6 separate regions of the Homo sapiens genome follow, and all the other regions are linked to region 1. The links are contacts of gene promoters, found by promoter capture Hi-C in blood cells and fetal thymus (Javierre and others, 2016). All regions are on one chromosome and are shown on one strand. Each heading gives the region's core, a stretch centred on a gene start or on the middle of the fragment in contact. The rest is flanking DNA. Distances are from core to core; before and after follow the strand shown. Region 1 holds the start of MANBA (mannosidase beta). Region 2 overlaps NFKB1 (nuclear factor kappa B subunit 1). Region 3 overlaps SLC9B1 (solute carrier family 9 member B1). Region 4 overlaps NFKB1 (nuclear factor kappa B subunit 1). Region 5 overlaps SLC9B1 (solute carrier family 9 member B1). Region 6 overlaps NFKB1 (nuclear factor kappa B subunit 1).

Evidence for each region. Contacts are between HindIII fragments. The CHiCAGO score rates a contact against its expected background, and 5 or more counts as called.
Region 2: a fragment that was not itself captured here is called in contact with the fragment with the promoter of MANBA in region 1 in 1 of 17 cell types (monocytes); the score reaches 6.4 in monocytes.
Region 3: a fragment that was not itself captured here is called in contact with the fragment with the promoter of MANBA in region 1 in 12 of 17 cell types (total CD4 T cells, monocytes, naive CD8 T cells and 9 more); the score reaches 9.7 in total CD4 T cells.
Region 4: a fragment that was not itself captured here is called in contact with the fragment with the promoter of MANBA in region 1 in 1 of 17 cell types (monocytes); the score reaches 6.5 in monocytes.
Region 5: a fragment that was not itself captured here is called in contact with the fragment with the promoter of MANBA in region 1 in 1 of 17 cell types (total CD4 T cells); the score reaches 5.5 in total CD4 T cells.
Region 6: a fragment that was not itself captured here is called in contact with the fragment with the promoter of MANBA in region 1 in 1 of 17 cell types (neutrophils); the score reaches 5.1 in neutrophils.

Annotation. Positions count from the first base shown.
Region 1 is chr4:102,758,253-102,762,891 of GRCh38, reverse strand. It overlaps MANBA (mannosidase beta), which reads left to right and starts at 1,924. Exons shown (of 17, transcript NM_005908.4): 1 at 1,924-2,174. The coding sequence starts at 1,998. RefSeq lists a silencer at 1,760-1,889 and an enhancer at 1,980-2,329. The HindIII fragment of the contact is 23,862 bases long and covers 1-4,639 here.
Region 2 is chr4:102,519,218-102,523,856 of GRCh38, reverse strand. All of the region lies in intron 1 of NFKB1 (nuclear factor kappa B subunit 1), which reads right to left. Among named protein-coding and RNA genes, the nearest start is that of NFKB1-AS1, 19 kb to the right of the region's middle. The HindIII fragment of the contact is 2,372 bases long and covers 1,090-3,461 here.
Region 3 is chr4:102,989,669-102,994,307 of GRCh38, reverse strand. It overlaps SLC9B1 (solute carrier family 9 member B1), which reads left to right. Exons shown (of 12, transcript NM_139173.4): 2 at 2,596-2,665; 3 at 4,367-4,508. The coding sequence starts at 2,597. Among named protein-coding and RNA genes, the nearest start is that of SLC9B1, 28 kb to the left of the region's middle. The HindIII fragment of the contact is 7,430 bases long and covers 1-4,639 here.
Region 4 is chr4:102,542,727-102,547,365 of GRCh38, reverse strand. All of the region lies in intron 5 of NFKB1 (nuclear factor kappa B subunit 1), which reads right to left. Among named protein-coding and RNA genes, the nearest start is that of NFKB1-AS1, 43 kb to the right of the region's middle. The HindIII fragment of the contact is 711 bases long and covers 1,864-2,574 here.
Region 5 is chr4:102,957,610-102,962,248 of GRCh38, reverse strand. All of the region lies in intron 3 of SLC9B1 (solute carrier family 9 member B1), which reads left to right. It also overlaps the pseudogene ACTR3BP4. Among named protein-coding and RNA genes, the nearest start is that of SLC9B1, 60 kb to the left of the region's middle. The HindIII fragment of the contact is 822 bases long and covers 1,537-2,358 here.
Region 6 is chr4:102,610,090-102,614,728 of GRCh38, reverse strand. NFKB1 (nuclear factor kappa B subunit 1) reads right to left here. Exons shown (of 24, transcript NM_003998.4): 20 at 4,030-4,154; 21 at 2,619-2,685; 22 at 2,123-2,295; 23 at 1,148-1,304. All of the region lies in intron 1 of LOC105377347 (a long non-coding RNA gene), which reads left to right. Among named protein-coding and RNA genes, the nearest start is that of NFKB1-AS1, 110 kb to the right of the region's middle. The HindIII fragment of the contact is 2,288 bases long and covers 798-3,085 here.

The DNA.
Region 1 (4,639 bases), core at 675-3,174:
CTATTATTGTTTTTCTAAAAATTATATTTCTTAATAAACAGAATATATCCATATGTATCATCAAGGATGAATTTTCCTCTGATTTGGCTTAATGAAATCTCTGGGAATTATGAAAAAATTCCTTTGCCGCTCTTGTTGCCATAAACCTTGTGTTATCAGTGTTGCACAGACCATGGCTAGCCATTTAATGCCGTGAATTATGGCATATAATTTGAATTGAGAGCTTTGTTTCTATCAAAGGTAAAAATGCTTCTGGAGTGAGTGAGGAAGGCTTTGAAGCAGTGAGAGCGTTTCCCCTATAGCATCATTGGGCTCTGACAGTAGGACCTTGAAGAGGAGGGTTCTAATCCTGTCTGCCACTATGTGACAGGCAAGTCACCTGATCTTTTTTTTTTTTTTTTTTTTAGAGTCTTTCTCTATAGCCCAGGCTGGAGTGCAGTAGTGCCATCTCGGCTTACTGCAACCTCTGCTTCCTGGGTTCAAGCGGTTCTCCTGCCTCAGTTTCCCGAGCACCTGCGACTACAGGCACGTGCCACCACGCGCCCAGCTAATTTTTGTATTTTTAATAGAGACAGGGTTTCACCATGTTGGCCAGGCTGGCCTCGAACTCCTGACCTCAAGTGATCCACCCGCCTCGGCCTCCCAGAAGTGCTGGGATTACAGACGTGAGCCACCGCGCCTGGCCCCGATCTCTTTGAACTCAGTTCCCTCATCTGTAAAGCCAGCGGCTTGGGTTGGATAATCCATACTGTCCTTTAAGCCAAGATATTCAGGGCTTGTAAATAATGCTGACTTTGCAAAGTAAGATATTGCCCGGTGTCTGCAGAATCAGGCAATTCCAAGGCCATTGTAAGGCGAAACAAAGCTCAGATTTGATGAGAGAAAATTTCTTTTCAAGGACTTCTTCCGAAGCATAAATATACGGCAGATAGCGTCAACACAGGAGAAAGGCAGTCTATTTTATGCAATGTAAAATTCCGTCTTAACTTCTAGGATTACTGTTACATCCTATTGCAAAAATGGGACTCAGGTAGACCATTTGACTACAAGACCCGAAATAAGTCAGTGGTATTTCTTGGGTACTCTGGCATTGTTAGGGACGATCACATATGTTTACTCATTTTATACTTATAACACCTTGAAAACTTCAAGAAACGGAGATGGAGATTTTGCGGCTTGCCCAGGTCCCACAGCTAGTGAGTGCAGAGGATTTTAAACTCAGCTGCGCGCCTAGTGCAGGTTCCAGAACCTCAGAAACCTCCGTGGGGCTTTATGAAACATAAGGACGCAGGCCGCTAGTAACAATAGCTAACGTGAATGCCTTCTCTGGGCCAGGCTCCATGCTGCATGCTATAGTCGCATTTTCTTGGTTAGCCCTCAGAACAACCTTCTGATGGAGATACTGCTAGTACTTGTTTACTCTTTGAAGGGCGGGGTAGGCTCTGAGACCCGCGAGTTGAGCTGCAGCGGGGTGAGTGTTACGCTACCAGGTAGACGAGGGTCTGTGTAAATTTGGCGGAAGGGAAGTGGTGGGTTGTCTCCCAGTTTGGGTTCTCTGAAGGAGTGAGGGGACTCTCCAGCTATGGTCTCCACGTACAGTCGGTCTCTGATCTCCCGAGGCTTTGTGCCACTGCGCGCCCAGGGATCTTTCTGTCCCAATTACCGTGCAAGATTCTTGCCTCCAGTTGTATGTACTGAGGCGGCGGGAAGAAGCGCCGAGGGAAGGCTCAGACCGCAATGCCCCCCAGCCTGTAGCTATTCTCGGGGGCTGCAGCTCCCGCACCCGCGACGCCCGGCTTTCAGCGGGTGCAGGCGCAGCCTCCTCGTTCCCCTCCCGCCCGCGGCTGCGCCCGGAGAGCGCTCAGCTGACCTAGGGGCGGGGCCGGGGCGGGGACCTAAAGCCTCGGCTACTTCCGAGGGGGTGAGTGGCTTCACCGCCGGTCCCTTGCAGCGCTGCCTTTCGATCTCTCCACATCTCGGTGGCGCGGGATCTCAAGATGCGCCTCCACCTGCTCCTGCTGCTCGCGCTGTGCGGTGCAGGCACCACCGCCGCGGAGCTCAGTTACAGCTTGCGTGGCAACTGGAGCATCTGCAATGGGAACGGCTCGCTGGAGCTGCCCGGGGCGGTCCCTGGCTGCGTGCACAGCGCCTTGTTCCAGCAGGGCCTGATCCAGGTATGGCGTGCGGCCGACCCGCGGCGAGCCTGCGCCCGCCTTCTTCTGGTGCTGAGAGGGGCCCAGGAACCGCCTGGCAGCCCCCAGCTCTGGGCCATTCTCGTCGGTTTGGTAGTAACTTCCCCTTTGCATCTTGTGATCTGCGGGGGGAAATGCCCAAGCTATGGGGTACGGGCTTGACGGAGACTGAGCGACCGACCCATGTTGGGACATCAGTAACTCTGGAAAGGGGAAGTTTAGATAGGGGAACAGTGTTGCTACTAGCAGTTTACTTACTGCAGTCGTTCTCTACTGAAGCGTGTATACAAAGGGCATGCCGTCACTGACAAGCATAAGGTCGGGAATTACTGTCTCTACTGTCTGCACGCCACAGGGGACAACAGCGTTTTGTTAAGTAAGGGTTAACTCTATTGAGTAATGTCTCGGTTTTTTATTTTCGCTGTTAAGCGTCAGGGAGTCAGATTTGGGATTGACGCAGCACAGACGTTGTGGAGAATGACCTACAAGAGTAAAGTTGGGTTTGTCAGTGCTAGTGTGGCTAACAACGGGTAAATAATTTTTAAGGCTAACTTGGTGATGAAGAAAGGTGCTATTTCCTCTCAGGGCGTGTGTGTGTGTGTGTGTGTGTATCCCAATGGAGTCTCCAATTTACAGACTACTTGTGGGGAACGTTTTCGTGTTTGGCTGCCTGTGCGCATAGGTTTGCAAACTGACTTCCATCCTCCAACTGCTTTTGCTGTTCCCTCTTGCACAGCGTTCCCACGTGTTGTCTTTACTTGGGGCAAAATGTACTTGTAATTGATCTACTTGTGGGATGCATACATTGTCCAATCCTCATAACAACTCTGTATAGTAAGTGTTCATATCTGAATTTTATGGATAATATGGAATTATGGAACACAGAGAAATTAGGAAGGTGACAGCAACTAAATGGAAAGAAATGGAATTCTAACCCAGGTGGTCTCAACTCCATAGCCTGGTCTCTATACTATGTGGTATGCTTAGTTTGGTGTTTTAAAAAATCATGTGTTTTTGAAGCACTGTGGCTGACTTTCAGGAGCACCATTCTAAGTTTATTTGCATGACAAGGTGGTCATCTAGGGTTGTGCCAAATTTCTGACCTGGTACTTAGTAGTTTTTTTTTTTTTTTTCCTGAGATGTGTATCAGAAAGGAGGTGAATGTTGTAAATGACATTGACCATTGTCCGATGTATTTTTAGAGTAGATCATTCCCAAACTTTAGTACTTTATTTTAAGTTGACAAACTACTTGTGATAGAGAACACAGCTGACCACAGTATACTCTGAGTTTTCACTTATATCTGCTTTGAGAATGCCTGTGTTTATTTTGTAGGGTTCCTCCTTGCCTGATTTTACTGAAATAATTAAGCCAATGGGTGCTGGTACGTGAGAGCTTTGGGAGGCCAAGGTAGGAGGATCCCTTGAGTCCAGGAGTTCAAGACCAGCATGGCCAACATAGAAAGAGTCTATGAGGCCGAGGTGGGAAAATTTCTTGAGGCCAAGAGTTCAAGACCAGCATGGCCAACATAGAGAGATTCTATCTCTAAAAAAAAAAAAAAAGAAAGAAAGAATTAAGCCAATGGGAAATAATGAGTGGCTTCAGTAAGTCAGATTATTGTGCCATATTACAGAGCTAAGAAGCTAAGAAACAACGTTTGGTTACAACAGATACTTAATGAAAATGAATTTGCTCATAGTATGAAATAACTTCCTCATAGGAACAATTTGAAGAGATTTCTTAACTCTCTTCATAAATTCTTAGCAAAACCTTGAGGTTTCAATCAGGTGGCCATGGGTCTCAAATGGCAGTGGAATGAGAAATGGGAAGGCTTTTGGGGCTTAGGAAACACAAGGCCTGTTGAAAATAATCATCAGGCTGGGCACAGTGGCTCATGCCTATAATCCCAGCACTTGGGAGGCAGAGGTAGGTGGAGTTTAGACCAGTCTGGGCAACTGGCGAGACCCTGTCTCTACAAAAAATTAAAAAATTAACTGGGCGTGGTGGCGTACACCTGTGGTCCTAGCTACGAGGGAGGCTGAGGTGGGAGGATCGTTTGAGCCCAGGAGGTTGAGGCTGCAGTGAGCCGTGATCTGTACTCCAACCTGGGCAACAGAGTGACACCCTCTCTCAAAAAAAAAAAAAAAAGAAAAAAAGTAAAGAAGCAATCATCAACATCAGATCAGTATCGTTATTCAGTAATGTGAGACTGTTGTCCGACCTGCTTTATTATAACATCCCTTTTTGGTGTTGACTTGAGGAAATATTCTACCGTTTATAGTAGACACTGGGCCAAATATTGTGTTTGTGTAAGAACTTGAAACATATCTTGGTGATATCATTCATTTATTTATCTATTCACCTAGTTAATTATCTCATATTTATTTTGTACCTCTAATGTGGCAGGCACTATTCTAAGTACTTGAAATCGAGTGGTAAAGAAAACA
Region 2 (4,639 bases), core at 1,026-3,525, 240 kb after region 1:
ATGCTCACCAGTGCAATGTCAGAACTCTTGCATACCACTTCCAGGTCTGGGCTTAAGGCCCTTGACATGCTTCCTCCATAAAAACTCAGACATGGAGAAGACCTGGCTTCTACCAAAAACATGATGATTAATAGCCTAGGGGATGGCAGATAAATGAGAGGGAAGGAATGAGGATCCCTGAACAATGCCATGAGACAGATCTGCTCTGACCATCCAGGCTGCTCATGCTGGTGGTGATGAGAGAAAGAAATAAACTTTGTTCTTTAACCCAAATGCACTGTCAGGTCTCTTTGTTCAAAGAGTTTAGCCCTCACCGTAATGAATATATCACATAACACTCCAATAAGCACAAAGCCCTCCAAAAAAGAATCTGATTTTCAAAGAAATCCTCTCCTGCTGGAGCACTGTGTGAGTGAGGAAGAGTGAGAAAGCTGATGAGCATTCTAGGGGGATGCAGAGCAGTGTACAACTTTAACAAAAAGGAAAGGGCAGCTCTGAGTCCTTCAGAACATGAAGTTCATGCAGATTTGCAGGGAAACATTTGTCTAAAACAAGAAAGTATTGATTGAAGATATACAGACAGCCACAATTAAACAAATCTCAATTAAGACAAGCAGTTAAAAAAGGGAAATTTGACCTGATAGAGTAAAGAGGGTAAGTCGCTTGAAATTTAAGAGTTCTATCATGCTGGCTGTGTGATCTTGGATATTAACTAAACTCACTGTGGCCTTTGTTTCTTCATCTGTAAAAATGACAGATTTTGATGGAATGGATTTTTGAAAAGAATATAACCTTGTTGAGATTAGAATATGTTAATTAGCAAATAAATGCCTATTCAAAGAACATATCCCCTAAGTCTTAATATTTTTTGGTAAACTTGGATTTTTACACGTATTTATGAGTATATATCTATAGTAAAGAATCATTAGCATAGTTTTCAGTTATAAGAAGAATACTAGTAAAAACATTACACTTAAATACAGTACTGAATACCAGCTAGAACAATCAATGTCAAAATCCCTATCCTTAGAATACCACAGAAGCTCAAACTTCCAAGAAAAATATTAAAACCATCTTTGCCCTTAAGCTTTCTGTCGATCTAGACTGATCTCCTGAACCTTCATAAATAATATTAGCCTATGGTCCTCAAAAACAGAGGTGAGGCTGTTGATGTGTTAATTATACTGATTATATACATTTAAACCTGTGGATGGTTTTCCAGACTTCTGAATGTAAACAGTTAACATAAAGCAGTCCTCACTCTAATTTTTAAAATTCAAACGAAACCTACTTTATTAGAACTGATGCATGATCACTACTATAGCTAAAACCTTAATGAAAATCTGTCAATTGCAGGCACCCAACTGCCAAATTAAACATGATCTTCCCCTTCAATATCCTCCCCATGATTTATACACCAATTCTTGCCAAAGGATCACAGTTTCAAAAGCCTAACAGCAGTCCAAGGCTCACGTGGGTGATAGTTAAAATTTGAACTTTTATAGCCTTTGCAATACAGTTCACTGTAAAGAGCTGAGGTAACAGTAACGCTATGGTGATGTCAATGTTAATTCACAATTTAAAAATGAAATGTCAAAAGAAACCAAGAATCATTTGGAAAGGATGAATCACTAAGTAATATTTGCATTAATTATAAAAGCAGGTTTTATTTCTAAAATGTTGAAATACCAACTAAGCGTCTGGAACTAAAGGATTAGAAAAGACCAGGGAAAACCCCTTCTACCTCCCTGTTCCCCCAGCCCTTCCCCTCACTTTCCCTTGTTCAATTCTTTGCTTTTGAGGAAGGACCTTGAAGCCAAAAGGGCGATAGTAAATTTCCAGGGGAGAAGATGGGACTAATCTCTGCATCTCTTTTCCCAGTAGTGAGGTTTCTAGGAAGATTTTCACACCATGGAAAAAGAAATAGAAAGTATAGCTAGCTAGCAACAAATAAAATAGCCAGTGAATTGCTTGTGTTTTTTCACATGAAAAACATAATGTTACAACTAGCTTAGTTCTGAACATGTGATGAGTTCTATAAAATGCCTAATGGGTTATTTTCTGAACCTGTGTGACAATGCCCCCACTAACACCAAAGTGTAGCACATGAGCTTCTTGGTGAAGGCTGTAGGACTGAGTGGATTAACTTGAAAGCCACAGAATTGAGCCATTAAGGATGGAGTTGGGGGCACGCCTGTCCTTGTAACTGGGGAAACTTTCTAGGATCAGAGATATTCACACTTTTGACCATGACCCACTGTAAGAAAATGTATTCTTTCTATAGGATTTCATTTTAAAAAATAAAACCTTTTCGAACTCATTAAAATGATTTTCAGTTTGAAAAAATAAAATTTTAGGTGCCATCCAGAGAGTACAGTTGGGAATCAGAGAGAAGTGTCTCTACTTTCAAGATTATATTCAGCCACAACAGACACCACTTAGGTGTGATTTTAATACCTCATCTTGGATAGCAATGAGGATGAAACTACAAGAAAAGGGGTGGCTTTTCATCATTTCTCTGCTGGCTAATAAACTGATAAAGAATGTGAGGAAGCCTCTTCCACAGAGGAATTTTCTGGAGGAAACAAAATACTTTGCATAAAATGTGAAACACTCAAATGAGAGTATCTTTTGATTCTGCAATTCTACCTCAGGAATTTGTACTTAAAAATTATCTGAGCAAGTGTGTAAAAAAATAAGTACAAGGATATTCACTGCAGCAAGGAACTGGAAATAATCTGTATGTCCTTTGATAACAGATTGTTTAATTATAATTATCCACATTTATAAGTTAAATATGCAACTGTTAAAAATAATACAGTATACAATATAATCTGTATACAGTAACTGGAAACTTTTACTAAGTTATATGTTTCTATATTGTAATTTTCTAACTGAATTATGTAATTAGAAACATATATTTAAATAGGAAAAAGGAAAAATTTAAATCTCTCCTGAATTTAAGGTTTGACTCTGACATCTTTAACAATTAATGACATACAGTGAATAAAACATGATAAATGAGCCAAAAACTTCTAAGCACTACTGAAATCTTCATAAGAAATACAATAGAAAAATTTCAACTTTAAAAGAGCTGTTGATTGACAACTTTCTGATATTGGCTTAGTGGTGATGAAAGAAAAGTTGATCATGGCTTAGTTACTTTTTTTTTTTAAAAGCTGATTTCTGAAAGTTTTTAAAAAGGAATCAATTTGGTGCACTACAACATTTAGATTTGTATAAACTAATTTTCCATGTTTTAAAGCTCCTCCTTCCACTTCCACATCCATGTTTCATTTGGGTGCAATGTGATCAATTAACATGTAGAATAGCTACCTGATATACCAAATACATTGTGCTTGGAGCTGGTAAAGATAAGGTACCTGTTTACAGTGGAATGTCAATCCAACAGGTATGGCAGATACATATACAACATTCAGCTAGTGAGTTCATACAAAGCTTATTAACACCGAGTATAATACACAGCAAATGTTAGCCATTTTATTAGATGGCATAATAAGCAATATATGTTTGTGGTAAATTATAAAAAGAGGAATATAGACAGCAAAAGGTTTAGACATTCTGAGAAGACTCAAGTATTTTGTTTCCCATTCTACACTTATGGGTACGCTGACAATTCCCTTTCTAAGGTGGCTGGCTATGTGTCACTGCTAGATAAACTGTTTGCATTTTGCCCCCAGGGGTCATTTGGCAACGTTTGAAGACATTTTTGCCTGTCACAGCTGGATAGGTGGTCCTACTGGCATCTAGTGTATAGAGGCTACAGATGCTGCTACACATCCTATACTGCACAGAATGGCCCCTCACAATAAAGCATTATGCAACCCTAAATATCAATAACGCTGAGCATGAGAAACCCTAATGAACATCATCACATCATGACAGTGCTTTGGTTCACATGGAGAAAGAAGTAAACTTTACTGACTACCTCATGGGTAAAGAACTGTAGCTAGAACTTCACATATTTCTCTTAATTCTCACACCAATCCTGAGAACCAATGTCCTAGATAAGACACTGAAGCTGAAAGAGAGTAAGTCATTTGCTCAGGTTCATATAGTAATGCTAGCTAATCTGACCCCACAGTCTCTGGTTCTTTCAGTTGTTTAGGAGGCAGAAGTGGTTTTCCTCTTTGGCATATAACATTACTTATTTTAATATAGTATCTTTGCTTCAGGTCTCCCAAGTGTTCTGGTTAGAGCTAGTCTACCCATAGCACAGCCTGAAAAGCAGAATAGGATTCTGACAATACACAAAATGAGTTATTCACAAGGCAATCACCTATGAAGATAAAAATACCAAACAATGTTAACTCAAGTGATAGTTCTTTTTTTAAAAAAAAATTTTCTTTGGTCTATCTCAAAAGATAGAAGGAGAATAAAGAGATTCTCCCTGAACCATGTCTATACTCACTGATGGTATGATAAAAGTATATATACTTATAATATTATATATAATTATATACATATACTTACATATTAAAACTATATATTTTATATATATACTTTATATATAACATATAAATATTTTATATAATATATAATATACTTATATATGAAAACTATATGTGTATATACTTATATATTAAACTATGTCAAATGTATATAATATATATAATTT
Region 3 (4,639 bases), core at 1,181-3,680, 230 kb before region 1:
TTGCCTCTGCCCCAGAGATCTGTAGAACTTTGAACTTGAGAGTGATAATTTAGGATATCTGGCAGAAGAAATTTCTAAGTGGCAAAGTGTTCAAGAGGAAGCAGAGCATAGAAGTTTGGAAAAATTGCAGCCTGATGATGCAATAGAAAAAAAAACATTTTCTGGGGAAGGGGGTAGAATTTCAAGCCTGCTGCAGAAATTTGCATAAGTAATGAGGAGTCAAATGTTAATCACCAAGACAATGGGGAAAATGTCTCCAGGGCATTTTCAGAGACCTTTGTGGCAGCCCCTCCCATCACAGGCCTGGAGACCTAGGAGGGAAAAATGGCTTTGTGGGCCAGGCCCAGGGTCACCCTGCTCTATGCAGCCTTGAGACATGGTGCCCTGCATCCCAGCTGCTTCAGCTCCAGCTATGTCTAAAGGAGGCCAGGTACAGCTCTGGCATTGCTTCAGAGGGTGCAAGCCCCAAGGCTTGGCAGCTTACACGTGGTGTTAGGCCGACAGGTGCACAGAACTCAGGAACTGAGCTTTGGGAACCTCCACCTAGATTTCAGAGGGTATATAGAAATGCCTGGATATCCAGGCAGAAGTTTACTCCAGTGGCAGAGCCCTCATGGAGAACCTCTGCTAGGGCAGTGCAAAGGAAAAATGTGGGGTTGGAGCCCCCACACAGAGTCCCCACTGGGGCACTACCTGGAGGAGCTGTGAGAAGAGAGCCACCATCCTCCAGACCCCAGAATGGTAGATCCACCAGCAGCTTGCACCATGTGCCTGGAAAAGCAGCAGACCCTCAATGCCAGCCTGTGAAAGCACCAGAGAGTGGGACTGTAACTCTGCAGAGCCACAGGGGCGGAGCTGCCCAAGGCCATGGGAGCCCACCTCTTGCATCAGCGTGACCTGGATGTGCCACATGGAGTAAAAGGAGATCATTATGGAACTTTAAGGTTTACTGATTGCCCTATTGGATTTCGGACTTGCATGGGGTCTGTAGCCTCTTTGTTTTGGCCAATTTCTCCCAGTACCCTCATTGTACCTAGGAAGTAACCAACTTCCTTTCGATTTTATAGGCTCATAGGCAGAAGCGACTTGCCTTGTCTCAGACAAGACTTTGGACTTAGGCTTTTGAGATAATGCTGGAATTAGTTAAGACTTTGGGGGACTGTTGGAAAGGCATAATTGTGTTCTGAAGTGTGAGGACATGAGATTTGGGAGGGGCCGGGGCAGAATGATATGATTTGTCTCTGTCCCCACCCAAATCTCACCTTGAGTTATAACAATCCCCACATGTCATGGGTGGGACAAGGTATAGGTAGCTGGATCTTGTGAGTTAGTCTCAGAAGATCTAATGGTTTTATAAGTGTCTGGCATTTCCCCTACTTGCACTCATTCTCTCTTCTGCCACCCTGTGAAGAGGTCCCCTCCAGTATGATTTTAAGTTTCCTGTGGCCTCCCCAGCCATGTGGAACTGTGAGTCAATTCAACCTCTTTCCTTTATAAATTACCCAGACTCAGGTATCTCTTCATAGCTGCATGAAAATGGACTAATACATCATTCTAATGACAAGATAGTTATTTTGACAGTCACTTCAATCAAAATGGAACTACACTTTAAAGGAATTTAGATCTAAGTTTCTGATCAAAATTTTTAAAGGTTATTTTTTGCTTTAATAATGTTATAAATTCAGTTATGATTCTTTATAGGATTTTATGCAGTAATATTTTACTTCATTATGGTAAGACAATAGATGTAAAGCAGCTAGCATATGGTAGCTACTCAACTGTTAATGTTCCTTTTCGTTAACAATTTTCATTATTAAAATTGTTTTCCTTTTAGAAAAGTATAGATACTTGAAGCACTACAGGATATGGTAATAAGACTATCTAAAAATTAAAACTTGAAATCTTTAGTTTTGTTCTTAACAACAACTCAAAAATTGAGAGAAGATATTTTTAAGAAAAGTTACCCTACTTATATTTGAAGCTAGCAAAGATTACAGAGGAGGTAGAAACAACAGATACTTTAAAATAAAAGTTATAAGTAATTATTATTTTATTCATCTAGTTTATTCTTCTTCAAAATAAAACTTTATAGATATATTTAAATGTTGGACCTACAGATCCTTCAAATGGGCCACATAAAAAGATAGTATGTATCAGTAACTTATAGATGTAGGTATTAATGTAGTTGGTCATATTTCATTTAAAATTTTTCTGGAGTGTTTTATGTAAGAGCATGACAGAAGATAGATTAAATCAACAGTGGATATTAACTCAAACACACCAGTTCAGTGCATAAAATAAATTTCTGCATTTTCTGATACATGATTCTATGATATGGGCCAGCATTATGAACTGTTGAGAAATATTACATTTCTGTATGATAATGGTTTTTAAAACTTATGCATATGGCTTTGGTTAATAATGTTAAAGATGAATATTTGGATCTATGTTGACTATAAAGATATCTGACTTGACTGTGATACAACTTTAGAACAAAAAATCCTTTAAAAAATTAATCCCACTTAACCATGTTTGTTTTCATATGGATTTATAGTCTTGTTTCTTCTTTTAAAGTATTTTTCTTTTAAATCTTAGCATGCATACCACAGAATCAAAAAATGAACATTTGGAGGATGAAAACTTCCAAACATCTACAACTCCTCAGGTAAAAACTTAAAAGTATACTGTAATATATGATATAAAATCAACCTGATCTTAAAATTTATTCCTAATTTACTTATTAGATAGGTTTCTTTTATATATCTGGTTAAAAATGAAAAGTGGTAAATTTTAAAATAGCTAGTTGTAATGGGTCCTAGGAAATGAGCAGAAATAATGAAACAAATGGAAAGGTGTGACTATAGAGCATTTTGGAGCTAAAGAGCACAGATTTTAGGAATAAGAAGAAATGTCGCTTATTATTTCTCACCACATTCAGGGAAAACTCAGTAACTTAAACTAACAGAGGTAAAGATAAGTCTAGATTAATTAAAATGTTGTGCTGTGTGTTTTGAAGAGACCCAAGTTTTTTATTTTTATAGATATATAGAGCAAGTCGTTAGACCTTTTGTTGATCTAGTTTTACTTAGTAATAATTGCTCATAATTAGAATTGTAAATTTCGTATTTTTTTAAAATAGAGATTTCTACAGTTCTTAAGGGTCAAAAAGTCATTTTTAAAAATATTTTAAATATTCACCATTGATTCTAATTATCTGTGAAGAAGTCATCTTAGTCTACATCAGTTTATTACAAATTCTAAAATAATAAAACTTAAAATAATATGGTTTTACTCTACATGACCTTTCACCCACCTTAATAAAAATTCACCATTGTGTCTTTATCCCTTTTATATAGTAACAGAATTTTCAGAAAAAGCCTGCCTCTATACCAGAACTCCAATAGGTTAATTATGATCAGATTTGAAGAACTTTGATCTTAAAGAGCTACATAATTCATTTTTAACCATCAGCTGCCTTGATATCTCTGTCTCCTTAGTCATTACATGTAAAATTCCCTTCCTCAATGTGTCCATGCACTCTAGCCTTTTTATTGTTTCCTGTGATGATAAGATGTTCCCTCTTTCACTCACTCAAAGTATTATCAAGTCACTCAAATTGCTGGCACACACACCCCCACACCCACCCACCCATGACAATCATAAGGCAAATTTGGAGATTTCTACTGCAGAGTTAACTCTACTCTGGTGTTTTGTTGTTGTTATCATTGTTTATGTTTTGTTTTTTACATTGGAAGAAGTTTCTCAATATTCTCACAAACCAAAGATTCCTTTTTTTCAAAATCAGCAGTTTCATAATCAGGCTACCATTAAAAGGCCTGGGAGATTAAGGTATACCCTTGCACTATTTAATATGTTATCTATAAATATTAGTGGAAGCATGCTTGAATTTCCGAAGGCTTGACCTATGTTTTTCTCATTTTTCTTTCAGTTATATAAATTTATCAAATGAGATGAATCCAAGTAAAATTATATTTCACCTCCTTTCTAATTGAGTTGTATTTTCATTTCACAAAAGTTTTGGTGAATAATCTTTGGGATGTATACAGAGGATGGACACTTTTAATTATTGTGCCCAAACTGTAGGCACCTTTATTCAGTATACACAAATGATTGAAAATAGTGGGGACCCAAGTCTATAAAAGGTTCAATCAAGGTACCTTGCAAAATACACTGCTGTTACATCCCCAAACAGCTACTGATATGGAGCATGAATCTTCTTTTGTATCTGTGATTCCTCGCATTGACAGTAATAATATAAATTTAATTCTAAAATTTGGTGGTTTATTTCATTCATAAAATTATACAGAAAGTATGGTTCCTTAAAGATTTTCTTGTTTTACTACAGAGTCTCATTGATCCTAATAATACTGCACAGGAAGAAACTAAAACTGTCTTATCAGATACAGAAGAAATAAAACCACAGACAAAAAAGGAGACATACATTTCTTGTCCTCTAAGAGGAGTATTGAATGTAATTATTACAAATGGTATGTGAAACAAAAAATGTAAATGAAGAGAAGATGAGAAATATGTTTGATAAATATTAAAACATGAGACAACAAAGACACTACTTAATCAATATACTCCAGATCAGATGATCAGCTTTGTTACAAGCAAT
Region 4 (4,639 bases), core at 970-3,469, 220 kb after region 1:
ATACCTCTTTCTAGGACTTCAACTAGACACCTCTTACTCCTTCTTTTGTACCTGCCAGCTCATCCTTTCTTTCAAATTATCCATGTTAACTATGTTGAATCATTTTCAGTGTCGCACATTTAATTTTAAAAATTCGACTTGGTTTTATTTTCATTCTGCCTGGTCTGTTTTCTATTCCAAACTTATTTTGTATTTATATATCAAACAATTGGTAATTCAATTATCTGAAGATTCTGAGGATTTAATTCTGCTTTTCATTGTTCTGCCAGTTCTTAAACAGAGTGGCTTATTTGCATACATATTTTCTAATTTTTGATCAGGAGCTCATGATTCTTTGAGCCACATACATTTTTATGCTTTTCTGCAAGGCTCTGAGGGTATCCCCAATGTGGAACAACTTCATATTCATTTCTAGACTTGGGGTTTCCTACTCTATTCAGGGAGCATACACTTAACTCTGAATCTGTAAGAATTGGGCTTGTAGTTATTGATTCTCAAGAGAGGCATTTTATCTTCTGATTCCCCCTAGGCTGAGACAGGCAACTTCCTCATCACCTCTCTGCCTGAGGATCACCCATCAACAGAAACTATAGCCCTGAGAGAGTCCTGAATTAAGTGGGTGATTGCAGTTTCAATTCCTCAGATTGGAAAGGCCCAAGGCCTTATCTTTTGTCTCTAGGAAGCTGTTAAAAACCAAGCTTCTTGATTATCTAGGTCAGCAAATATTTCCAGGGCAGCTGTGGCCCCAAAGTCCACCCATATCCTATTGTGTTTTCCCAAAGTTTTCTTTTGTCTTACGGCGCCCCAGTAGTTTTCATACTTTCTAATAAACTCAGCTATGCATTAAAGAAAATGTTATATTTTTTTTCTAGTGTTACTAAGTGTATTGTAGTGGGAGAATTACCTACTCTACCAGGCTTTGGAAATGGAATAAAATCGATATTTTAAGTAGGTTTTGAAGCAGATTTTTATGGGTAGTAAGGTTTGAGAGCCACACTGCACTGTCTCCCATAGAGCTCCTGAGAAAACATGCTGGAAACTGTAGCTAAGTAAGACAGCTTCACATTTTTTTTTTTCCTTCAGTCCAATGTTCTGCTACTCAAGGTGGAGTCAGGTGTTAACCAATCTTCTTTAAGTCATGGATGAATAAATAAAGCTAAAGATACATCTATATGCTTCCACCCAGGCTTTATAAAAAGAAGCTAATATTTGTAATCACTACAAATATTAGCAATAATTTGAAATCCTGTTTTTTTTCTTTAAAAAATTTTTTTTATAGAGACAGGGTCTCACTATGTTGCCCATGCTGGCCTCAAAATCCTGGGCTCAAGCAATCCTCCTGCCTTGGCCTCCCAAAAGTGTTGGGATTATAGGCGTGAGCCACTATGCCCAGCTGAGGTTTATCCTTAATATTATGTTATAAGCAGTTTTCCACGTTGTGCCGTATCCTCTTAATTATCTTTTTAAAACACAGTGGCATAATATTCTATTCCACGGTATACATTGAATATCTATTCAATTATCTGTTGTAATATGTTGCCATTATATAATGGCATGTATTCTTAGAAACTGTCATAGAATTATTGTAGAATCCAAGATTGGCTAGATGATGCACTGTGATTTAGCAATTGTGCAGTGGTTCCCAGGCGTCTCTGTGGTTGAAACATTTTTGGACGATTCTGAAGCCCACCCATGATTGTGAACCATAGATTTAAAAGATTCCTGCAAAGTAGAAACAGATCCTTAACATTATGATAATGAATGGTATTCCACAATGGTTAAGAGTGCAGGCCCTTAAACCATATGGCATGAACTGAAATCTTGGGCTCCATCTCTAAAAGCCTGTGAGACCCAAGTTAAGCTTCTTAATTTCTCTAGGCTTCAATTTCCTCATTTATAAAATGCGGATCACAGAACCTGCATCAGTGGATTACTGTGATGATTAAATGAGATGATGTAAGTAAGCACATCAAGCCATTATTATAATCATTCTGTTGGGTAGAAGGGGACCTAAAGGCAAAAAGCATTGTCTGTGAAAGTCTGCAAGCACTTTCCAGCCCATGTCCATGAGACCCCAGGGAGGTGAAGGTAGTCTGGAGGCTTCTTATTTGGAATCCATCTGGAGGGTGGGGAGAAAAGACTGAGACTGCAGGGTAGCCTCCAGCTTCACCTCTGGACCTGCAGATGGGTTGAAAAACAACTTGTCTGTGGAGGAGGCAGTGGAACACATGTGGGGATCTTAGTGCTTCTGTGTGTTCACTTGACCTTATCAAGGCGAATTGCCAATATGTGACTTTATGAGGTCAAGACTCCAGAATGGAATGCCGAGAGTTGCCCCACTATACCTTCAGACTGAGACCACTGGGTTTAAAAGAAGCCACCAGAGATTTGTTTCGGATTGAACAGTGGTCCCAGAAATAATCATGTGTCAAGGAAGAGTGGAGGGCAGAAAAATGGGAATGGCCAATAGAGGAAGGTCACCAAGCCAGAACTGACAAAACAAAATTTAAAATTCAGACAGTTCTTAAATTCAAGGAGTGTATATCTCTCCTAATAATTTCTAAGGGTTAAGCTTCCCAGCTATTATCTGTGTGATAGGTTTTCTCTAATGAGTAGCTTTCTCCACTTTATAATAGTGACTTTGAATATATACAGCGGATTTAGAGGGCTATTTAAAAAAATATTTTACAAAGTAATATTTTGTTTTAGGACAAAATACAAAACTTCTGAACTACTTGCAACAAAAATTACCTATAAGTCTCAATTGTGGTTACATATGGGAGGGAGTTTTGTCTGCTTGTCTAGAGCAGTACCTGACACACAGTGCTCAATCAATATTTGTTCAATGAATTGCCTTCTCTCTTTTGGCTTCAATCACTAATGGTGAGCTTCATGCTTAATCTGCAAATGCATGGAAGAGCAAGAAAGAAAAAGCAGTGAAGCCCATTCAACTCTTTTGGCCATCAATTCAGTTTCATCTTTTTTCCACCTACTGGAAAACTGAAGGGAGGCTTTCTGGGCTATGTGTTGAGCAACATAAAGCATTTCACTTCATTTAAAATTGATTAAAAATGCAAGAATAAAAAAAGAAAAAATCTTAAAAAATATTACATAGATCATTTAAAAAGATAGCTGCTATCAAAAAGCTAAAGTGATACAAGCTATAGCATGATTCTTAACCATGTTAAATCTTTCCCTTTGAAAATATGATAAAAAGTTATACTCATCTCCCAAGAAAAAATGCACATACATACATGTGTAAGTCTGCATATAAATTTAGGAATCTAAAAAGCGTCTGAAACCACCAACAGGGATCCATAGACCCCAGGTTACAAAGCCCTTCTGTTCAATAAGCAGCTTTTCTCATGGTTTACAAAACACACAGTATAATGTACATAGGGGTATGGTTATTTTCCCTAATTAAATACTTGCGCAGTGAACAGCTTAGGGGTTCAATGGAAATCCTAATAAATGATATGAACTAGGTTCTATACGCACACATAGCTGATTATTGGTGATTTTCTCCCCTGTTGTTTTAAGTAATTGAGTCAGGTTAAATTATTTTAAATTAGTACTCCAAATAGATCCAAACCACGTGAATCAGACAAGTCTATACAAAGGAAAGGGAGATTATGCAAGGATATGTGATATCCTCAAATGCCACAGCAGATCGGGTAGTCTCTATTCGACCTCGACAGAAACTTAACATTTAGGATTTTTAAGGAAAGGCACGAAGAGTGGAGCCTTTTTTTTTTTTTTTTAAATCAGTAGTGGAAGGGGACAACAAAAAAGCTGTTGTTGACCTAAACATTTCAACACGTCTTCCACTCAACATAAAACACTCAGGAAAGACAACATATGTGAGAACCAGCTTTCAGAAAATGTTTGATTAAAAATAGTTACACTTCTATCAGCTGGGTTTCAAGTCCCTTGCATTTGATATTTATAACTAAAGAGAAACTAAGAATACTAACTGGTAAGCTATTTGTACTTTACAATCAAAGTCATTCTTGTCAATTTCTGGTTTTGCATAGAGTGGACCACACAGAAGGACGTGTCACATTAGTTAGGATAGGAAGGGGTACTTTCTGGTCACTCTAGAGGAGGATTGGTGAGAGTTTCTGAAGTCCCATGGGGCTGCTTCTCTTGTCACCCACCTCTGTGAAAGGGAACACAGTTTGATTTTTAAAACTTCACGCGTGGCTTTCGGGAAAAATAGGGAAGTGAGCCTTCCCTGGCACTCCTTGCTGAGTCAAAAGCAGGCAGGGACAAGCTTGGCCTAGAGGAAGGTTCCTGTGCTTTTCTGCCAGCCTCTCCTATTAGGAGCTCCGTGATGAAATTAGAATGGAAAAAACTTTAAAGGGAAATTTTATAGGCAGTATAATAGATTATTAAATGTTTAATGATGGGAAATTTTTCTTATGAAAGGACAAGATATAAGAGTTAGTCTGCATACTTACTTCCCCTAGATTTTTCTCTGAATATTATTTTTTGCTATAAGAGTTAGTACAAACTACATTGTGACAAATACATTTTTATCTAGACAGCAAAGAGGAATCAATAGGATCAAAGTGAGTACCAGTTAATCTTCAATGGCGTCCAGTTTGAACCTATGTTTGCCCTGAAAAGGAGCCATCCT
Region 5 (4,639 bases), core at 698-3,197, 200 kb before region 1:
AACTCCCCTCAACATTCTCCTTTGGGCTTTGTCAACTACCTTTGCTGACTCTCTGATAGAAATGCAAGAAAGAATAGTAAACTATGGCTCAGTGTTGCCTGCATAGCCAAGCTCAGAATATCTACTGAGGTGATCACAGGGCTGAGACCCAGAGCAGTGGGTGCAGCTCAACCTCCAGGTGTGGGCTGGATGCCAGGGGCTGAGAGCAAGGCAATGGAGGAGCCAGGGTGGGCACCAAGTGGCTCTTACCTGATGCCACAGTCTGCCACACAGGAAGGCAGGAACCCCGCCATGCTTGGAATACACAGCATTTAGCCCCACTGGCCACCCTGGAGCACCCTGCCACCATCCACTTGGCAACCCACTCACCCCATACACCATGTCTTCTGCGTGTTTCCACTTTTATTCATTTTAAGATATATTGTAGATGGGTGCAGCAAACCACATGGCACATGTATACCTATGTAACAAACCTGCACGTTCTGCACATGTATCCCAGAACTTAAAGTACAATAAATTTTAAAAAAGGAATATTTTAAAGGATCAACCTACTATTTGACAGTCATGGAAATAGTGAATGGGAATTAAAGGGAAAAAAATAAGTAAGCAAAGGAAGGGAGGAGGAAATGGAAAAAGAAAGGAAAGAAAAGGAAAAGGGAAATACAAGAAAAGAGCCAAATAAATAAATAAATAAACAAATAAGTGACTGAAAGTCTGGGAGTTGGCAAATACTATTCAGACAACACTGACAAAATAGGCCTCTTGCTAAAAATAGCAGAATGCACAAAGTACAGGAGCAGCCTGTCTGTCCTGAGAGGCTGGGGAGGTTTAGGAAAAGAGGCTGGGGAGATTTGAGACAGATCTGAAGTATGTAGTCAGTTTTTGCTTGGTGGAAAAAGTAATCATGGGTGATTCAGAAAAAGGAAGATACTTACATAATAATTGTTTTGTACCTTTTTTTAGTCTTCTATTACTTTCATAAAATTATCTTTGCATCAAAAGTTATTAACACTTTCAGGACTCCTTGTACGCAAAATTCTTTGAATTGCATTTCTTAATTTGTGATCACACTGGTAATTTATATAGCACAATGAACTGAATGTGTGTCTTTATGTTTAAAGGGAAAAATAAAATTCAAAACAGCATATTTGATATAATTTATGATTACATAATAGAGAAATACCAATTTTGATATAATTTTTAGAAAGTAAAGCTTAGGCCAGTCACGGTGGCTCATGCCTGTAATCCCAGCACTTTGGGAGGCTGAGGCGGGCGGATCACCTGAGGTCGGGAGTTCAAGAGCAGCCTGACCAACATGGAGAAACCCTGTCTCTACTAAAAATACCAAATTAGCCGGGTATGGTGCTGCATGCCTGTAATCCCAGCTACTCGGGAGGCTGAGGCAGGAGAATCGCTTGAACCCGGGAGGCGGAGGTTGTGGTGAGCCGAGATCATGCCATTGCACTCCAGCCTGGGCAACAAGAGCAAAACTCCATCTCAAAAAAAAAAAAAGAAAGAAAGAAAGAAAGTAAAGCTTAATGAAAATTTCTTATTAGTAGAACTACTAAAAAAATACAGTGACTCTAAACTCATATCTTACCACTCAATAGATGTGTATCGGAATTTAAGCAGCAGAGAAATCATTTTTAACTTTTTTTAAATTTTTACTTATCAAAAAACCATATGAGCTAAAAATAACAAGGCTTCCTAAAATGTACAAACCTCACCACAGCTTTACCACACTGTTTTTTGGGGGGTTTTGCTATTTTAAAATATAAAATAATTCTTCAATATAACTCACAATTATTTAAGTATCAGCAATACTATGTTATTTATATTAATAAATTCTGCTTCCTTTTGTGAGATTAATTACTCCATAGCCTTTGCCAGTCTGTTTCTGGCCATTTTACTATTTCTCTACCCAGAGTTGTAATTGCCCTTTACCTATCCTTCTTAATCAGAACATCCTTCCTTTATACCACTTATTAAAAAATAAATTTAATACTTAATTCAATTTAATACTTCTAAATAAACATATATATATAATATAGTCAAGTTCATTAGGAATATATGTGTGATTTTTCACATTTCTTTAATGTCCAAAAAGATATCCCAGTGCATATATGTTTTCTGGTGAGTTTTAATGTACATATTATTTATTATTCTTTTTTCCTGACACTAGTGCTTCTCAAATTATCTGTGATGAAGAAACAGATGTGGTTTTTTTGTTTTGTTTTTCTTTTAAAAAAAAAAACTTTTATTTTGGGTTCAGGGGTGCATGTTCAGGTTTGTAACATAGGTAAACTTGTGTCATGTGGATTTGTTGCACAGATTATTTTGTCACCTAGGGACTAAGCTTAGTAGATTAATACCCAATTGTTTTTGTTTTTAATTTCCTATTTGATGTAGACTGATATTTACTTTTTATAAAATACAGTGTCAAATTGCTATAGAAGTTTGTAACCACTCTCCATTTCTGTATTTGTCTTGTCACTGAGAACAAATCCTTGGCACCAGCCAAGCGGGCCCCTGACCAACAGCACAGGGGAGTGTCCTTCTGGCTCCTTGCTTCCTGTCAGCGATCCGCTCACTAGACAAGTGCCTGAACCACTCCCTTGTCTTGTCTATTGATATTCAAGCAAAATCTCAATGCAAAAAGAGAATCCATGATGTAATTAGAGAAGATAAAGTGTTCTTTTCACATATATCCTAAAAAATATCTTTCCTCAAAATGTCAAAAATTCTATAACCAGAAATGTTCTGATTTTCCTAGAATGCAAGAATTCCTGGAAGAACATCTTAACAGATTGCAATGTTCTTTCATGCTCACTAGTTCATTTTATTGTAACAAAACCTATTTATGTTGGCAGGAGATAATTTTTTTATCCCCATTTTACAGATAATAAAACTGACTTACAGGTTAAAAAAATTACATATATATAGTAATTACACTTATGTTTTCTTCTTTCCCCATAATTACCATTTGCGTATGTGTGTGTGTGTGTGTGTGTGTATATATATATGTATGTCTCCTAATCTCCTATCCTTTTACATTCAACCTGCTTGTTTTATCTAAAGTTTGTTTCTTGTAGGCACCATATAGCTGAATCTTGTTTTTTTAAAGTCCTGTACAGTAATAGTTGCCTTTTTATTTTAGTCCATTCACATAATTATTGATATGGTTGGACTTGCATTTAACATTTTGTTATTTGTTTTCTATGTGTCATGTCTTTTTGTTTTTCTTTTCTTACATTACTGCTTCTTTCATGTTAACCAAGTATTTTTAGTGCCCTATTTCAATTTCTCTGTTGATTTTTTTTTTTCTTGAGACGGAGTCTCGTTCTGTCACCCAGGCTGGAGTGCAGTGGTGGGATCTCGGCTCACTGCAAGCTCCACCTCCCGAGTTCACGCCATTCTCCTGCCTCAGCCTCCCAAGTAGCTGGGACTACAGGTGCCTGCCACCATGCCCGGCTAATTTTTTTGTATTTTTAGTAGACACGGGGTTTCACCATGTTAGCCAGGATGGTCTCCATCTCCTGACCTTGTGATCCGCCCACCACGGCCTCCCAAAGTGCTGGGATTACAGGTATGAGCCACTGCGCCTGGCCTCTCTGGGGCTTACTTTTTTAAGAGACAATGGCATGGTCATAGCTTATTGCAGCCTCAAACTCCTGGGCTCAATCAGTCCTCTCACCTTTGCCTGTCAAGTAGCTGGGACTACAGGCATGTGTCATCACACCTGGGTAATTTTGCTTAAATTTTTTAGAGACAGGTGTATTAGTCCATTCTTGCATTGCTTTCAAATACCTGAGACTCGATAATTTATAAGTGGTTTAATTGCCTCACAGTTCTTCAGGCTGTACAGGAAGCATGCAGGCATCTGCTTCTGGGAAGGCTTCAGGAAGCTTACAATCATGGCAGAAGGCAAAGACATGTCACATAGCGAAAGCAGGAGTAAAAGAGCAAGGGGCAGTGCCACACACTTTTAAATGACGAGATCTCACAAGAATTTACTCACTGTCCCAAGGACAGCACCAAGAGGATGGTACTAACCATTCAGGAGAAATCTGCCCCCATGATCCATTCACCTCCCAGCAGGACCTATCTCCAACATTGGGGATTACAATTCAACATGAGATTTGGGCAGGGACACATATCCAAACTATATCAACAGAGTTTCATTGTGTTACTTAGGCTAGTCTCAAACTCCTAGCCTCAAGCAATACTTCTATCTCAGCCTCCCAAGTACCTTTGGGGGTTATAATAATCAATCATCTTCACTTTTTACAATCTACTTTGGTTTAATAATTTTTACTTAATTCCAGTGTTATATAGCAACTTTGATCCAATGTACCTCTTATATGCTATGAACTCAGCAGTATTGTTATAGTTATTGCCTATAATAATCAGATGCTTTTTTTAAAAAAGAGATGAAATCAGAATACACACACACACACACACACACATATACACACATACACACATACAATCTTTTATACTTACAAATTTATTTACCACTTCCAGTGCCGTTTATTCCTTATAGGTTCAAGTTGCCATCTGGTGTCATATCCTTTTATCTTAAAAGCATTTTATTTAGTGTTTCTTTAGCAAGGATAAGTTCTCTTTATTTTTATTTATC
Region 6 (4,639 bases), core at 692-3,191, 150 kb after region 1:
GAAGTTGAAGGTAGGCGTCAACCATGACACACTCTGCAAGTGGTCAAGGTGAAAAGGAGGTGACCAGATCTGGCAATGTGGAGGTGACCGGTCACTGTGAGGACAGCAGGCCTGGTGGAGCGGTGGGGATGCGATCCCAACTGCAGGAGGCCAAGCAGAGGGTGGAAGGTGGCAAGCTGGAAAGAATAACTCTAAAAAATTCTTTGAAGGAGCTCTGCTATGTATGGGAATAGAGCAATTGGACTGTAGCTAAATGGGATGTGGGATCAAGAGGGTGATTGTTTCGGTGTGTTTTGTTTTTAAAGATGAGGAAATCATGAAATGCTTGCTAGGTGACCTAGTCGGAGAGTGGGGAGGAGGAACGGCTAGTACAGGAGAGAGAGGTAAGAATTAACAGGAACAACAACCTAGTAAAGGTGAGGGGGTTAGACTCAGGGGAGAGGTGGCTCCTCAGCTGGGCAAAGAAATTTAACCCACCAAGTCCGGATGGAAGGCTGCCAATGTGGGCACAGGCACAGGTGGGCTGGCACTTGGTGCAAAGGTGAGAGGGTTCTGGTTTCTTCTGTTTTCAACAGAGTGTGAAGCAAGGGTGTTGCATGAGTAAGGGGAGGGAAGGAGTGTTGGGGGTTTAGAAATAGAAAGCATGGAATCATCATTTACAGAGTGGGAGAATAAAATTGTAGGAAATATAGGATTACTGGGCTGGGTTGAGAGTCCATTTCATATGGTTGCGAGACTTTTGGTGGCATGACACGTAGTCCCATATATGGTGGGGGACAAGGTCAGTGTCATAAGCTTGAGAGAGGAGGCAAAGGAAGAAGGAGATGGTTCTCTCTTTAAGGTAAATATTATTTCTCTCATGTGTTAAATTTAATCACCCACATCATGTTGTTTTTAGTATTTATTGTATTATTTAGTGTTTACTAAGTAGTTCATGTGTCAATGTGATTTTCCAAGGGTACGACCCCCTCATCTGAATGGTACTATCAAGAGAGGCAGAGGGTGAGCCCAGGGGGTAGAGAGACACACAGGGAAGTGTATCCAGAAAACGAGAAAGAAAACTGCCACACCATATCCAAAAAGAGCTGAAGACACCAGCCTGGGGGAGCTGGAAAATATCTCCACTGTCTTTTGTCTTTTTTTTTACCTATTTGCTGCCTTGTGGAGGCAGGCGAGAGAGGCAGCGAGTGGGCCTGAGAGGTGGTCTTCACTGGGCTGGAGGCTGCCTGGATCACTTCAATTGCTTCGGTGTAGCCCATTTGTCTCAGGGCCTCCACCAGCTCTCTGACTGTACCCCCAGAGACCTGTGAGAAAGAAAGGAAGGAGGAGCATGTTCTTGTGTTCGAGTCCCAGTGCAGGCTGTAAGCACTGACAGCCCACCCTTCCCTCTTCCATGCTGCCTCCTCCACTCAGGAGCCAGGAGGAAATGGAAAGGGCAGAGAAGAGCGACTAAGAAAATACAGTCTTCGAATCAAGTTTCCTGTTTCGGCTCAAAGACCACTCAGGAAATCACAGAGAAGTGGTTTGTAGTAAGCAGAGAGAGAGACAGCGAGAGAAGCGCTGAGGCAGTGAAACTCTGCCTACAGTGACGTCTACACAGTCTCCCTCTGTAAGCTGAAGCTCTGAAATCCATGCAGAAACAAAAGCTAACCATGAAATTTTCAACAGAAAACTTCACCCCATGCTTTTCTACATTTTATTTTTAGAAATGAAAAAAAAAAATCCCCGGGTAATGGCTCCACTAGGAGTCACCTCACAGAACATGACTCAATGCCCTGCCATGGGGTAAGGTGTGTTCTTGGGGACAGGAAGCTACACGTTGATTACAGTCGATTGTTTGCTCAGGGCCGTTAAAGTTCTGTGAAAATCCTGACCCTCTACGTAGCATTTTCACAGGAAGTCTCCAGGTATTTGAAAACGGGGAAAATCTGAAGGTATCTGAAAACAGCATTCTCAGGAAGATGGGCTGCCAACTTGGCCTGGGTCACCCTCCCAGGCCTTGGGCAATGACTGGTTTTCTTCTTCAGAGTTAAGGAAAAGGGAAGGAGATTATGCCCTGGCCAGAGATGTTAACAGAGTAAAGTCAAATGAAAATTGCTAAATCTGTAAGGTAAGGTGTTACCTCATAGTTGTCCATAAGTGTTTTGGAAGGAGCAGGACTCAGCCGGAAGGCATTATTAAGTATCCCCAGACCTAATTTCTGCGCCAGAGTAGCCCAGTTTTTGTCTGGATCAGGAATTTCTAGTAACTTATACAGCTGCAGCTTCACATCTTCAGCCAGCTGTTTCATGTCTCCTGAAGGAAATGAAGAAGGAACACACTTGTTCTAACATGCCATAGACACTCTGGAGGGACTGATCATTGCTGCCTGGCTTGCTGTCCAACTCCCAGTGGAACCAACCAAGCTACTCTACTTGAAGGTCAAAGCCCAGCTGAGTAGAAGGCAGTATACATTTACAGTAGATTAAAACTGGATATTCTCCTTATCTACCTCCAGCATCTTTTGGTTCTGAAATAAGAACTTTTAACAGTAGACCCTGGATAATGCTGGTTCCTCCCTTTAAATGACAGTGTGGAGATAATAATGGTTAAGAGAATCTGGTTTTATCACAACCCACCTTGTGCTAGTAAATCATCAGATGTAAACTCTGGCTCATATGGTTTCCCATTTAATATGTCAAATACCTGTTGGAAAGAAAAACACCAGAAATCGTTATACATCGAAGGGACCACTAGGGCAGTCTGTTTCTTTATAATAAACAACTCAGCATGTCCTCCTTAGGAGGGCCTGGTACCCTAATGATGGAGGAATGGCAAGAGGAATCAGGACCACCCTCCAAGAATATGGTACCCTTTGGGGGAAGAACAGCTGTAGGGGCTCTGGTACTGGGAAATAGTGCTTTGCACAAACTCTGAGCTGGGTCAGAATACCCAACCAAACTGCAGAGAGTCAGAGCTATAGCCTTTTGGAAGGAACAGGCAGTCCAGGCCACCATGTCAATCATCTCCTGCTCAGAGACCTAAGGCTAGTGAAGAGCTTACTCAGAGCTGTGAAGCTGTCTCCCTTCTTCCATAGGAACAAGCTTATGAGAATGAATTGTATAAACTTGCTCAAATTGAGATGTCTAGATGTTCACAAGGCTTGGTGTTAACCCTCTGGCAATACTGACATTTTAACTGAGGGTCCAGAATTGTCTTAGGCTAAAAGAAAAATTATTCTGTAGCTGCCGAGGCATTTGTGGTGTTCTCTGCAGTCACTCTGTTGCTGGCTGACCTGGGTAAGGAGAGCGTGGGGTCACTGAGTGCATCATCTTTTTGTGTTCTGTGGCAAGGCCTTCTGGGGAAATGAGGTGCTAACATAAAGGGAGAACCATGCTAACGTCAGTGAGCTGGACACATACAGGCTGTGGGAGGCACATGAGCAGTTTTAGAAGTGGAGCAGCTCTCGTCTCTAGAAGAACTGATCTTGTCATGTTGGAGATCTTGCATGCTGCCCACCTCCTCCCTCTGGCTTTTCTTCCTGGGGCCAAATGACCTAGTAACTGCTTTATACCTTCAGATCTCAGCCCTGTGGAGTTTTGAGGAAGGCTTTAAATCTATTTACTCTGTTTATATTTATTGAAATTCTAAGAAGAATTCTTAGTTTATTTTTACATCCTGAAATCACTTACCTAAGTCCTAAGCAAACAGTAACATTTATCCTAGCTTCAGAAATTGAGATGGTCACAATTATGGTGTGAATTTGGAATGGGTAACTTTTATGTGAATTTTGTGTTTTTCTTCTAACCTTTTCTCACATCTCAACTCTGATCTGATTAGGCATACACTTTCGTACTCAGAACTCAGCTGACCTAGATCTTTCATGGATAGGGTTTTTCAAGATAAAAATGGTCTCTGACAAACAGACTTTCTTAAAAATAAAAGGCATGTTCTTTGGGGAATAAAGCACCAGGAAGACCATCTGTTCTTACATTCCTGAACCTCTGACTCCCTCAGGGGCAGCCATCAGACAGATGGAGCGGCACTCACCTGCCAGCTGGTGGCCATATCTAGAGGCGTGGTTCCAGGCACAACTCCTTCATCCTCTCCTGCATTTTCCCAAGAGTCATCCAGGTCATAGAGAGGCTCAAAGTTCTCCACCAGGGGATCTGCTCCTGCGAAGTTAGATTACACAGCATTAGGTAAACCCAGATCTTGTCAACTTCCAACTGCCTGCAAAGGTCAGATTCCCAAAGGCAAAGCAATGTAGCAGCTTGAGGCAATCTCCTGGATAATTTTTAAATCATAAAACATTTCTACTGGAATATCCAGAGAAATTATTTTAAAATTGTAATTTACTTTGATTGTTAAAGTGTCTTATGACACCTGAAATAGCCAAAGATACTATTGAAGAAAAAAAGACTTCAAATACTCTTTCACATTTAACTCTACAGGATATTTCTCAACTGAATAGTGCATCTTTAATCTTAGGGCTGATGGACAGCATGATTACAGCCACTAGGGTGCACCCTCAGGATTAGGGTCCTAACTGTTCAAATTTATGCATGACAATGTGTATTTCTCAGCCCCTTTTCTTGGACACTCAAAAGAGCAAAGATGCTTGATGTCTAGTGACAGCATGGCCAGTTTCATTGCTGGG